Regions from separate parts of the Homo sapiens genome. Here region 2 is linked to region 1. The links are contacts of gene promoters, found by promoter capture Hi-C in blood cells and fetal thymus (Javierre and others, 2016). All regions are on one chromosome and are shown on one strand. The core of a region is centred on a gene start or on the middle of the fragment in contact, and the rest is flanking DNA. Distances in the headings are between cores, read along the strand shown.

The links. Contacts are between HindIII fragments. The CHiCAGO score rates a contact against its expected background, and 5 or more counts as called.
Region 2: a contact is called between the fragment with the promoter of ZC3H13 here and the fragment with the promoter of DNAJC15 in region 1, in 1 of 17 cell types (naive CD8 T cells). The highest score is 6.6, in naive CD8 T cells.

Annotation. Positions count from the first base shown.
Region 1 is chr13:43,021,085-43,027,347 of GRCh38, reverse strand. DNAJC15 (DnaJ heat shock protein family (Hsp40) member C15) reads right to left here and starts at 3,762. Exons shown (of 6, transcript NM_013238.3): 1 at 3,614-3,762. The coding sequence starts at 3,721. RefSeq lists enhancers at 3,264-3,313, 3,824-3,873, 3,884-3,943. The HindIII fragment of the contact is 4,162 bases long and covers 411-4,572 here.
Region 2 is chr13:46,049,656-46,055,918 of GRCh38, reverse strand. ZC3H13 (zinc finger CCCH-type containing 13) reads left to right here and starts at 3,173. Exons shown (of 19, transcript NM_001330564.2): 1 at 3,173-3,515. It overlaps CPB2 (carboxypeptidase B2), which reads left to right. Exons shown (of 11, transcript NM_001872.5): 10 at 70-157; 11 at 2,121-2,733. The coding sequence ends at 2,305. CPB2-AS1 (CPB2 antisense RNA 1) reads right to left here and starts at 3,071. Exons shown (of 3, transcript NR_046227.1): 1 at 2,954-3,071. RefSeq lists enhancers at 3,008-3,207, 3,218-3,387, 2,917-3,452, 3,453-3,989. The HindIII fragment of the contact is 2,282 bases long and covers 2,258-4,539 here.

The sequences.
Region 1 (6,263 bases), core at 2,513-5,012:
GGTGATGAGACAATCTGTGCAGCAAACCACCACGGCACACATTTACCTGTGTAACAAACCTGCACATCTAGCACATGTACCCCGGAACTTAAAATAAAAATTGAAGAAAAATAAAAGTAAGAGTTACAGTTTTCAGGAAAGTAATGGAAACTAAATGACTACCGTTTCATACAAACTGAGTTTTGTTCAAACTGCTTTAAAATTTGATAATAATCTCTTAAAGTTTCTTTTCTACTTTTCCATGAGAAACAGCTTTGCTAGTGCAAAGTTTGATTATGACTTCTATTAAACCATTAATTGTAAAATGCTAACTTTATTCAAGATGCTACATATTTTGCCTATTTTTAAAAATTATTTTAATCTCCTAAGCAGGCTAATGAACATTAGTTCTTAGTTTCAAAAGAGAAGCTTACCTAAGAAAAAGTTATTTAACAAATATGACAAGATATATTTATTTCTTTTTGATTTTTCTTTTAGAAAGACAGGGGTCTCACTATGTTGCCCACCCTGGGTCTTGAACCCCTGGGCTCAAGTAATTCTCCCACCTGACCTTCCAAATTGCTAGAATTACAGGCATGAGCCACCATGTCCAGCCCAACAAGATATATTTCATAAACCTTAAAATGAATTACATTTTTAAAATACAGTGTGAAAGTTTTTCTTTAACTCATTGACAAACATTATTTTCTATTTTCCATAAGATTTCCAAATATGCCCTACACCTAGGCCATTTTTTTTTCTTTCCTAATATTTACCTTTTGTCAGCTTCTCATTGCTTTCAGTACTTCCAAGTTCCCTAAAGTTATTATCAACAATCTTCTGCCTCATTATTGGTCATTGCCTGGACCAACAACTCCCAAAAGAAGCAGAACAACCCCTTAGGGACATTCTGAAAGTACGTGAGGCCCTGTTTGGTTGCACAATAATTTGAATAGAAGGGAGGGTATTTGGTGGATGGGGGACCATTGATCGTAGAAGTCCTAAAATATATGAGACAAGCCTGTGTAACAAAAAACTGTTTGCATCCCTCAATTTTAAAAGATTAAGTAGGTGAAAAGTTTATGATAATCTTAGTCCAGAACTTCATTATATATAAATATATCATTATTACACTGTTTTAGTACAGACTGAATCTTCCATAAGTGCAAGTGCCATGTAAATTGAGGGAGATTCCACTGTTTTGTTCAAGTTTTTACCAGAAATTGTTCACCATTTAGGAGAAATAAGTTTGTAAAGAACAATGGTCCTTCTGCTACTTGAAAAGCCAATATAATACATTTGATAAACAATTTGCATTGGTAGCTGTCACATACACAGTGATTCTACAAATTGGTGTAATATGACAGCAACTAATAATTACTTCATTATGTTTTCTAATGTAGTAATGTCTAAGTATTTACATATTTAAATTGTAGACATGTTAACATGTTATTTTCTTTTTTTTGAGACAAAGTCTCGCTCTGTCGCCCAGGCTGGAGTGCAGTGGCATGATCTCCGCTCACTGCAACCTCTGCCCCCTGGGTTCAAGCAATTCTTCTGCCTCAGCCTCCCTACTAGCTGGAATTACAGACTTGTGCTACCATGCCCAGCTAATTTTTGTATTTTTAGTAGAGACACGGTTTTGCCCTGTTGGCCAGGCTGGTCTCGAACCCCTGACTCAAGTGATCCACCCACCTCAGCCTCCCAAATTGCTGGGATTATAGGAGCGAGACACCGCTCGCAGCCTGTAGACATGTTATTGTCTAATAAAATATTTCACCTTTATGTCTCAATTAAAGCATTATATTGATTATTAAAAGTTATGTTTACAGGTAGATTTTATTGTCTATGAATCTGACTTCAGGATTTCAGGATATTACAGGACACAGACAGTTTGAGAATCACTGGCCTACACTTTAGCCTTCAAGTACCTGGACTACTAAAGATGCTTCCTATGTGGTACTCTGGATTCTGTAAACTCTCTCCTCTTCCAAGTAAAAATACCTACACATGTAAAAGTCACCAATATTAGTTCTATCTTCCAATTACCACAGCTCCCAACTACCTTGAAAGCCTGATACTCGGATTTTTACGACTCTCCACAAAAGGATTACTTCTGCCTGATCTTGTTCAGCTGTATCATACACTGAATACTATATCCAGAAATCCTTATTTCTAAGGAGTCAGCAAGTCATAAGGGAAAAAGTGTAGCATTTGGAATCGTAGATCTGCCACTTACCAGGGATGATCCTGGACCAGTTACTTAAAACTTTCTAAATCTCTACTGCCTCATTTTTTTTTCTTTGTTGGAGACAGGGTCTAGCTCTGTCTCTCAGGCTGGAGTGCAGTGGCGAAATCATAGCTCACTATAACCTCAACTCCTGGGCTCAAGTGATTCTCCCGACCCAGCCTCCCAAGCAGCTAGGACTACAGGCTCACACCACCACACCCAGCTAATTTTTTTTTTTTTTTTTTAGCAGAGATGGGGTCTCCTGTGTTGCCCAGGCTGTCCTCCAAACTCATGGCCTCAAGTGATCCTCCTGCCTGGGCTTCCTAAAGCGCTGGGATTACAAGCCTAAACCACCACTTGGGCAATATTTCATATTGAATGTTGAAAATTACCATGCAACTGTGCATATATCAGGTTAAAGAAAATACATGGTTAAAATCAAACCCACCTGTTTCTCTTCAGTTGTTTAATATGGCTACAAAAAACTTAAAAATATGCCGGACGCGGTGGCTCACGCCTGTAATCCCAGCACTTTGGGAGGCCGAGGCGGGCGGATCACGAGGTAAGCAGATCGAGACCATCCTGGCTAACACGGTGAAACCCCCGTCTCTACTAAAAATACAAAAAATTAGCCGGGAGTGGTGGCAGGCGCCTGTAGTCCCAGCTACTTGGGAGGCTGAGGCAGGAGAATGGCCTGAAACCGGGAGGCGGAGCTTGCAGTGAGCCGAGATCGCGCCACTGCACTCCAGCCTGGGCGACAGAGCGAGACTCCGTCTCAAAAAAAAAAAAAAAAAAAAAAAACGTAAAAATACGTATGTGGCTCACAATATGCTTCTGTTGGACAGTTTTCTGTTAGACCCTTCCTTTTTCCAGCTCTACAGTTCATCCTGAATACACCACTTGGAGTTTCCAACTGGGCCCTGTTTCTGTGCCGGAGACTTTGGAGACAGTAGTCCTGGTACCCGAAACACTTTTTCCCCTTCTCCTTGCTGAATGGACTGTTTTTATTCATTCAGATCTTAATTTTTAACTACAGCTTTCTCCAAGAAGCGTCCCTGATCCCACCACGTCCCCTGCAAGACGTTTTTAGGGCCTCCTATGAGATAGGAAAATCCACATACAGCACTTATTTTACTGTATTTGCAATTGCCTGTTTTCTGGTTTGTGTCCCAGACAAGACTGGAAGCTCCTTGAGGAGACAGATCCTCAGAACTGCTCCGTCTTCCACGCCCAGGCGTCAAAGCCCAGCACAAAGCGGTCTCTCCACTGAACAAGTGAGCGCTAGGGCACAGACCGTGAGCGAATGCGGGGGAGTACAAAGGTTCAAGGGTGAGGCGGTAGAGGGGGCTGAAGCAGAAACTACAAGGGAGCCAGAGAGGGGTGGGGGCCGCTGGCAGGACTCACCAGTCTCTGCTGGTCGACGTCGGCGTCTGGCCGTTTGGCCGAGGGCTGCAAGTACTCAGCGTAGCGCAAACTCTCGCCAACTGGAGCGATGACACCACGGGCAGCCATGGCAAGGCGGCCCGGAGACTCAAGGCGCCGCGGCAGTGACTACGAGGCGGCCGTAGGGACAAACTAGTTAGCGCGGTTTCTTCTCGCAGATCCAGTGGACTCTGCGCTCGTTGTGCTATTAAAGGCGAGGTTCCCGGAAGATACCCTTCTCACCCGAGCTGGGTAACGTGTCCCGTGCAAGCACGGGGTCACACTCCGAAAGGAGCCAAGGGCACTGGGACGTTCTTGAATCACACTCACAGGCGCAAAGCCAACGCGGACCCTCAGGGAGCTTTATATACTTGGGCCTGGTCCCTCCCCAGGCCGCCGTAAGGGACTGGGCTTAAGCCCTGCGAACTGATGTTGGTCGAATCAGATGACTGCCCAGTAAGCTCGGAGTCTAGCTGTAGTGCCTGAGGGTGGGCTTGCCTGAGCTTTCCTGACCCCCTTCCGGGCAGCCTTTCTTCCCACTCTCAACTTCTGTTCGCACTTCTGTTTAATGCCACAGTTCTACCACCCCGGGAGAGAAATTAAAGAGGCAATTTGCTTACTCCACCCCCAAGTAAATGGCTGTATTTAAGGTGAAATTACACAGAAGAAAGTTGTGGCCGGGTGCGGTGGCTCACGCTGTAATCCCAGCACTTTGGGAGACCGAGGCGGGTGGATCACACCAGCTTGGCCGACATGGTGAAACCTCGTCTCTACTAAAAATACAAAGATTAGCTGGGTGTGGTGGTGCGTCCCTGTAATCCCAGCTACTCAGGAGCCTGAGGCAGGGGAAAAAAAGTTGTGAGCAAGTAGGTAAATCTTACTCTCCCTCAAATGAGTTTGTGCTGATTTGTATATATAAAAGCCCATTTTATTATTAAGCTTTTTTTTTTTTTTGAGATGGAGTCTCGCTCTGTTGCCCAGGCTGAGTGCAGTGGCGCAATCTCTGGCTCACTGCACCCTCTGCCTCCCGAGTACCTGGGATTAAAGGCACGTGCCACCACACCTGGCTAATTTGTGTATTTTTAGTAGAGACGAGGTTTCACCATGTTGGCCAGGCTGGTCTCAAACTCCTGACCTCAGGTGATCCGCCCGCTTCAGCCTCCCAAAGTGCTGAGATTACAGGCGTGAGTCACCGCGCCTGGCCTCCATCAAGTTTTTAGAGCAAAAATTAACCAGCAGTTGAAGCGTATGGTGTTTTCCAACTTCTGTACCAACGTGGCAGCTCTTTGGCTCCTTATACCCTTTGCAAAATCAGCTGACAGGAAGAAAAAGCTTTATTTTTTTTCTATTCCTGAATTTAAAGTTTTGAGGGTCTATTAATTTGTTCACTTAGTTAATATTATTAGCATGTCTAAGAAGTTAGGTCCTAGAAATTTACAATCTTGTAGGGAAGATAACACTGACACAGAATAATAGTACATACCAGAACATGAGCACATGCATTGCATAGCAGTATAAAGAGAACTGGACTGGGAATTAAACCGCCATTGCAAAATTACAACTGAGAAAGAGATCTGACCTAATCAACACCATCTTGCTTCTAACCTCCAAGCTGTCTTGTACATTCCTGGCCGTAGGCCAAACTAACTTTGGGAGGAATGTAATTCATAGTTTATAGTTTGAAACAAAGATGATAAAAGCCCTTTCCCAAAACAAACCTCCTTCTTGCCTGGGGACTAGACTGCCTTTGTAGGACTAACAAATTAGCCACAAGATCAGAAATTATGACTTAGGAGTCATGCAGCTGGAGGCTACAAGATTCTGACCCTCCCCAAATTGCTGCTGGAGCTAACATCACTATTGTAAAAACTACCACCAGTGCTTGAGATATTTTGCAGACCCCGCACTTGATGAATCAGCTGGCATCACCCAGATCGATAAACTGGCTCATCTGATCTCGTGGCCCCCACCCAGGAACTGATAACGCAAGACAACTTGGACTCCCTGTGATTTCATCTTTGACCTGACCAATCAGCACTCCCAGCTCACTGGCTTCCCCCTACTCACCGAGTTGTCCTTAAAAATTCTGATCCCCAGCTGGGCGCGGTGGCTCATGCCTGTAATCCCAGCACTTTGGGAGGCCGAAGGTGGGTGCATCATGAGGTCAAGAGAGTGAGACCATCCTGGCCAACATGGTGAAATCCCATCTCTACTAAAAATACAAAAATTAGCTGGGCGTGGTGGGTGCCTGTAGTCCCAGCTACTCGGGAGGCTGAGGCAGGAGAATCGCTTGAACCTGGGAGGCAGAGGTTGCAGTGAGCAGAGATCGCGCCACTGCACTCCAGCCTGAGGACAGAGTGAGACTCCGTCTCAAAAAAATAATAATAATAAATAAATAAATAAAAAATTCTGATCCCTGAATGCTCTGGGAGACTGATTTGAGTAATAATGAAACTCCAGTCTCCTGCACAGTCAGCTCTGCATGAATTACTCTTTCTCTATTGCAATTACCCCGTCTTTATAAATTTGGCTCTGTCTAGACAGCCAGCAAAGTAAACCCATTGGGTGGTTACAGGAATAAGGAAGACATCTGAGTTCTAGTGTACCTCCATTATTTTCTGGGCTTGTATAA
Region 2 (6,263 bases), core at 1,924-4,423, 3.0 Mb before region 1:
TTAGAAACTTCTACTTGTCATGTTTCAAAGCTGCACATTAACTGAAATTCTATATCTTGTTGCTTCCAGTCTCTAGTAGCCAGTGAAGCAGTTCGTGCTATTGAGAAAATTAGTAAAAATACCAGGTATACACATGGCCATGGCTCAGAAACCTTATGTAAGTATTTCTTCTTATGATCTTAGAGAACTTTGAGCTACTAAAGAAATCTGTGTGATCTGTTTTTCTTTGTGTATTTAATTTTTCTGAATTAAATAGGGTCACATGTAATACAACTGAATTGTAATAATTAGGAACAGAAGCATAATAGCTATGACAATGCTGAACAAAGCTATATTAATAAATGAGTTACTAAAAAGAAGCCAAAATCCTATTTAAGAAATCATATTTATCACAATCAAGTAGGAATTACAGAATTGGCATCATACTAGTTGAGTGAAGCAGAAAAGTTCATAAAACTTTTGCATGATTCCCAGGGCCACCATGGAAGGTTGTGCAGGTTGTACACTACACTAATCTAGGGCATGCCATTTGCATCAAGTGTTTTTTAGTGTTAGCCTGTTCCCAAGAGTATAGCTCATAACACATTACAGTTGATTGTCTTTAATATATATTACACACACAAAACTTGTGACAAACTCTTAACAAAAAGTTTTGATTAATTTTTGCTGAAAGATATTTAGTGAGTAACTCCTATCTACACACAGTGGGAGGACAGACTGATTTTGCCCTTTTGAAGTTTGAAGGGAGATGGGAAAAGAGGAGCATAAAATAAACCTGTAACCAGGCATCAGAAAACTACAGCCTGAAGGCCAAATCCAGGTTTTTCCTTTTTTTTTTTTTTTTAATGATTAGAAAAAAACAAAAAGAGGCCAGGTGCTGTGGCTCATGCCTGTAATACCAGCACTTTGGGAGGCTGAGGCAGGAGGATCACTTGAGGTCAGGAGTTCGAGACCAGACTGGCCAACATGGTGAAACCCTGTCTCTACTAAAAATACAAAAATTAGCTGGGCATGGTGGCAGGCGCCTGTAATGCCAGCTACTTGGTTGGCTAATGCATAAGAATTACTTGAACCTGGGAGGTGGGGGTGGCAATGAGCTGAGATTGTGCAACTGCACTCTAGCCTGGGTGACAGAGTGAGACTCCATCTCAAAAAAGGTCGAAACTGTATTTATCATGAACACTAAAATATGTACACATTTTAGTTAACATGCATTAAACTGTAACAAGTCTTCTGGCAATTGTAGCTTTCATGAGATGCTTCCCAAACTGTATTAGATAGATGCTAAAATTATAAATTAAAATTTTGGGTCAGACTTTGCCATAAACCTGGACTCAATTTAGCACCCCCCCAAAAAAAGTCAGATTATTCAATTAATGCGGTTGGAAAACCTAACAAGTTACCTAGAAAAAAATTAATTGGATTATTAACATGTCTTTCACCAAAGTAAATTCCAGGTACAGCATATATTTTCATATGAAAACCCTGCATAAACCAAGTTGAAATCTCAGTAAGGAGAAAAAATTCTTGTGAAAGGAGAAATGAATGAAAGGAGAAAAAAAGGTCTACATGCCAAACAAAGCTAATAACACTAATGTCGTTTTTATAAGCAATTGATAAAATGAACCAAGTAGACAAATGAGGAAGGACAATTGATAGGAAATATAAAGATAGCCAATAAATATGCCAAACAAATGTGCAACTCACTGATAATCAAAAAACATAAATTAAGACAGTTGGATATTATTTTTCGCCCATAAAATTATCAGAATTCATAATTCCTATTGATGGTATGGGAAGGGGAAATGGGCAAATTCATACCCTGCTTGTGGAAGTATAAATGAATTCAGTTCTTTTGACGTCCATTTGGGAACATGCCGTAATTGCAAAAAGTACAGAGCCTTAGACTAGCAAATCTATTCTAGGGAAGAATATTCTAAAGAGACAAAGAAGCAATTATGTATAAACAAGGGTACTCATTGTAAAGTTGTTTATATTAGTTAAAAACTGAAAAAAATCTAAAGGTATACAAACAAATAAACATTTAAATCAAACAATTCCCAGTTTGTAAATTAATTTGAAACGTCTGTATTTCAACAATTTCTTTCTTCTTCTTTTAGACCTAGCTCCTGGAGGTGGGGACGATTGGATCTATGATTTGGGCATCAAATATTCGTTTACAATTGAACTTCGAGATACGGGCACATACGGATTCTTGCTGCCGGAGCGTTACATCAAACCCACCTGTAGAGAAGCTTTTGCCGCTGTCTCTAAAATAGCTTGGCATGTCATTAGGAATGTTTAATGCCCCTGATTTTATCATTCTGCTTCCGTATTTTAATTTACTGATTCCAGCAAGACCAAATCATTGTATCAAATTATTTTTAAGTTTTATCCGTAGTTTTGATAAAAGATTTTCCTATTCCTTGGTTCTGTCAGAGAACCTAATAAGTGCTACTTTGCCATTAAGGCAGACTAGGGTTCATGTCTTTTTACCCTTTAAAAAAAATTGTAAAAGTCTAGTTACCTACTTTTTCTTTGATTTTCGACGTTTGACTAGCCATCTCAAGCAAGTTTCGACGTTTGACTAGCCATCTCAAGCAAGTTTAATCAATGATCATCTCACGCTGATCATTGGATCCTACTCAACAAAAGGAAGGGTGGTCAGAAGTACATTAAAGATTTCTGCTCCAAATTTTCAATAAATTTCTGCTTGTGCCTTTAGAAATACAACCATGCATTCCGTTTGCTCCACGGTAATTAGGCGATGGCCCAGAAAGGGGAGGGGTGTCAAAAACGACAAACATAGCCTCTCATTCCAGCTCAGCTGCTCAATAAACACTGTTGAACGAATGAATGAGTGGCTCTAGGTACTGTCAACAAATGCCGCATTTTGCGCATTTACAACAGCTGTTTATGGTAAGGAATTATGTAATAAAAAGAGAAAACTCACTTAAATTCACTTTTAATTGGGAATTTTAGTTCTCCCGGGCTCCCAGTTTCCTTTCCTAGGATCTCTCACAGAGCACAGATTCGATTTCCAAGTCCCGCCGCACTCTTACCGCTCGCATGGAACCTTACGCCTAGAGGGCGTGTCCACGAAGGGTGGTGTCTGCGCACTGACGACTAATCTGACGGCCGGAAGCTGCCTGGGTCTACAGAGGAACAGGGCAAACCTCTGACTTCCGGCGGCATTTTGAGGCGGTCCTCCTAGCGGCCTGGTAGTGTTTTTGTTGCCTTTTCTTAATCTACAATCTCTTCGTTATTTTTCTTCCTGCGACCCAGTTTCGCTTGACCCTGGAGAGGCGGCGGGCGGGTTGGTTCTGCTTCTCAGCCATCCCGGGGGCTCCTCGCTAGCCAAGAGCCGGTTCCCGGGAGCCGCGCGCGCATCGCTTTCTCCTCGTCGTCGTCCTCCTGGGTCCAGGCGCGGGGACAGAGTCGCCTCCCCCGCTCCTCGGAGCGGCGGCGGCGGTGGTGCCTCCGGACTGCACTTGCGAAGGGAGCTTGGGGAGGAAGTAAGCGTTCTGTGAATTGGTGTGGGTATCTGGGGAAGGCATTGAGCGGACCCGTAATGCGGAGGCCCGGGTTACCCCCCCCCGTCTTTGCTTGAGTCACTGGGATTTTGAGCTTTCCTTGAGCATCCCACCCTTAACTCTGCAATAGCCCCCTGTGCTCAGGCGTAATTTCTCACTCTGATTATGATTCTGGCATTTGTCTAAGGGCGATAAGTAGACTCAGACAATAGGCTGTACCCCTCGTTACCATTTGATGTAAGCACGGGAACCCTTGTATGGTGTTCGTATTTGTGTGCGATGGAAGGGTGCAGCAATTTGGGCTTAAATTTAGAATCTTCCTCTATACTCATTCCAGATCTGTTAGAGAAAAACATCTTACTTGTGATTGGTCTTGTTTTTTTTTTTTTCCCTCAGCAGTGATAACGATTTAGGTCCTGGGAATTGAGTGCTACTTTATCTTCACAAGCCTTAGGTAGGTAGTTTTGGCAACTGTCAGAAACGGGGGAAAGTGGAATAGAAAGAAGAGAGTCTGTTTGGCGGCATTATCTCTCTGTAATAGGCTAACGCAATTTATGTGGTTTGAAAATTATTTAGAGTTGATAATACTTGAATTATGTTGGTAAGATGTTGTTTGTGAAGGGTAGTCTTAAGGTATTTGGTTATACTATGGGGCTTTCAGGTAATTCGAACTACTTTGAAAATTATGGGAGTATGAAGTCTCTTAAGATTTTTGGATTTTTAAAGTAGTTTTAAAAATTTGGAAAACATCTTTACACCTCAAGTTTTCGAAGTCCGCGATACCGTTGGAGAATAAATACTTATGCAGTTCAGTCTATGGGTATATGGTGCCAGTTAGCGGGGTCTAGTTCTGTAACATTTGAAATTACTGGCTTTAGTACAATATATTGGAGCGTTTTGTGAATACAATCTATAGATTTTCAAATAATTTTTATTTTCTTAATGAACTATTTAGATTATAACAGATGACAGTTTCAACTAGAGACTAGCAAAGTTGATGCAAGCTTGTAACAATTGCGGCTTTAAAAATAGTTGCACTCTGAAACTAAGGCTTTCACTCTGTGCATCTGGTAGGATTCAGTTTTATCAAATGTATGCCTCTTACTGGCTTCCTGATTACTGGTCATTCTAAATGAACATTGCATATTTTGAGATTTGCAAGCTTATGTGATTTTCATATTTGTAATATGAATTTAACATACTAAAAATCCAGCAAGTGGATGGTATCTTAACATCTTTACAAATTATTAAAATTGTAATATCATCAGTATTTATAATATGCATTGGCATTTACATAGAGGAAACACATTGTTTAACTTAAATTTACTTAGAGAGTTGGTTTTCAGTGGATGATAGTCTTCCTCACCTCCTCATCTCTCCCAACTCCATCTCATATAGAGGTGGAGCTATTTCTCCAGCTGTTAGTAGTAGTTGAAGCATTAACTGCTGTTGATATAGAAAGAGTCTTTTATTCTTTTTTTTTTGTATTTTTGTATGATGCAGTTCTTTTTACTTCACTTTAGAGTAGCTACCAGCATGGGATGTTTTCTGTGCACAGTCTTTTTAACAAATTGTTTTTTCTGCATAGTACTGCAGTGTTGCTTTGCTAATTCCTATGTAGTCAGCTTAGTTCTGTCAGTTGTATTTGGAATTTAGTTTGGAATTGTTTTAGCATTAAATTTACGGAAGCAATCTGAAAGTTTGTTTTAGAAAGTTCTTTTTAAAAAATTCTCTCAAACTATGCATCAAATAAAGTTAATTTTTCTTTCTAAAAATATGAAGTATAAATGTGAAGATACCTTATTTTTAGTATCACCTTTTTAATCTTAGAAATTCAGAGTATAGGGATTTATCCTACTAGTTAGTACATTCATGTAGTTTTAATTGCCTAATTGTTTGAAATTTCCCTAATATTATGCCGCTACTCATCCGGATTAAAGTGTTATGCTTTCACTTATGCTTCCAGTAGATGAGACCTGGAAAAGATAATTAATTATGGATTGAAGTGAAGATACTAGAACGCATATGTGTTTATTGACAAGATTTTATTAATTGAGCTTCTGGAGTCATTATTCAAAAAGAGACCCTTTTGTATGCTTCTCCTTTCTCAGCCATAATTATAATGTGAACCTTCTGAGTACAGTGTTATTCTAAGTTTCTCGGGGCAAGGGAGCAGTTCCCATTTAAGACCCTCTTTTGTTGTGTCTTTATTAATAGACTCAAACTTTGTGTCCCGGATTTTCTTTTTCTTTTTCCATTTTCTTTTTTAATTGAAAAGAGATTATAAAGACTTCAGATATTCATTTGCTCTGCAAATGGAGAGGAGAAATAGGAAAATAACGAAATAGGCTTTCACTAGTGCCACTCTGTCTTTGATAATGCTCGTGTTTGAGAAAGACTTGATGATGTGGGTGGAAGTGTGATGGCAACTTAAACCAAATAATAATTTGAAAACAAAAATGGAGGAAAACCTTCATAGAAGAGTAAATTAGTAAGTTATTGGTATGACCTTGATTTCTATTCTCTATGATAGGAAAGACTTTAGTATTTACATTTTTATCTTATGGTTTCTAATTTTTCTCATATACTTTGAAGCATTTACTTGTCATGTTCAGCCTGTTCATACATAATTTGAAAAAGTTTCCCGCCCCGAAAATCTACATTTTAACTGTTGTGGTGTTCATTTTCCTTTACGGGCCCAAAGTTTTAAATAGGATTGAAAATTCTAAT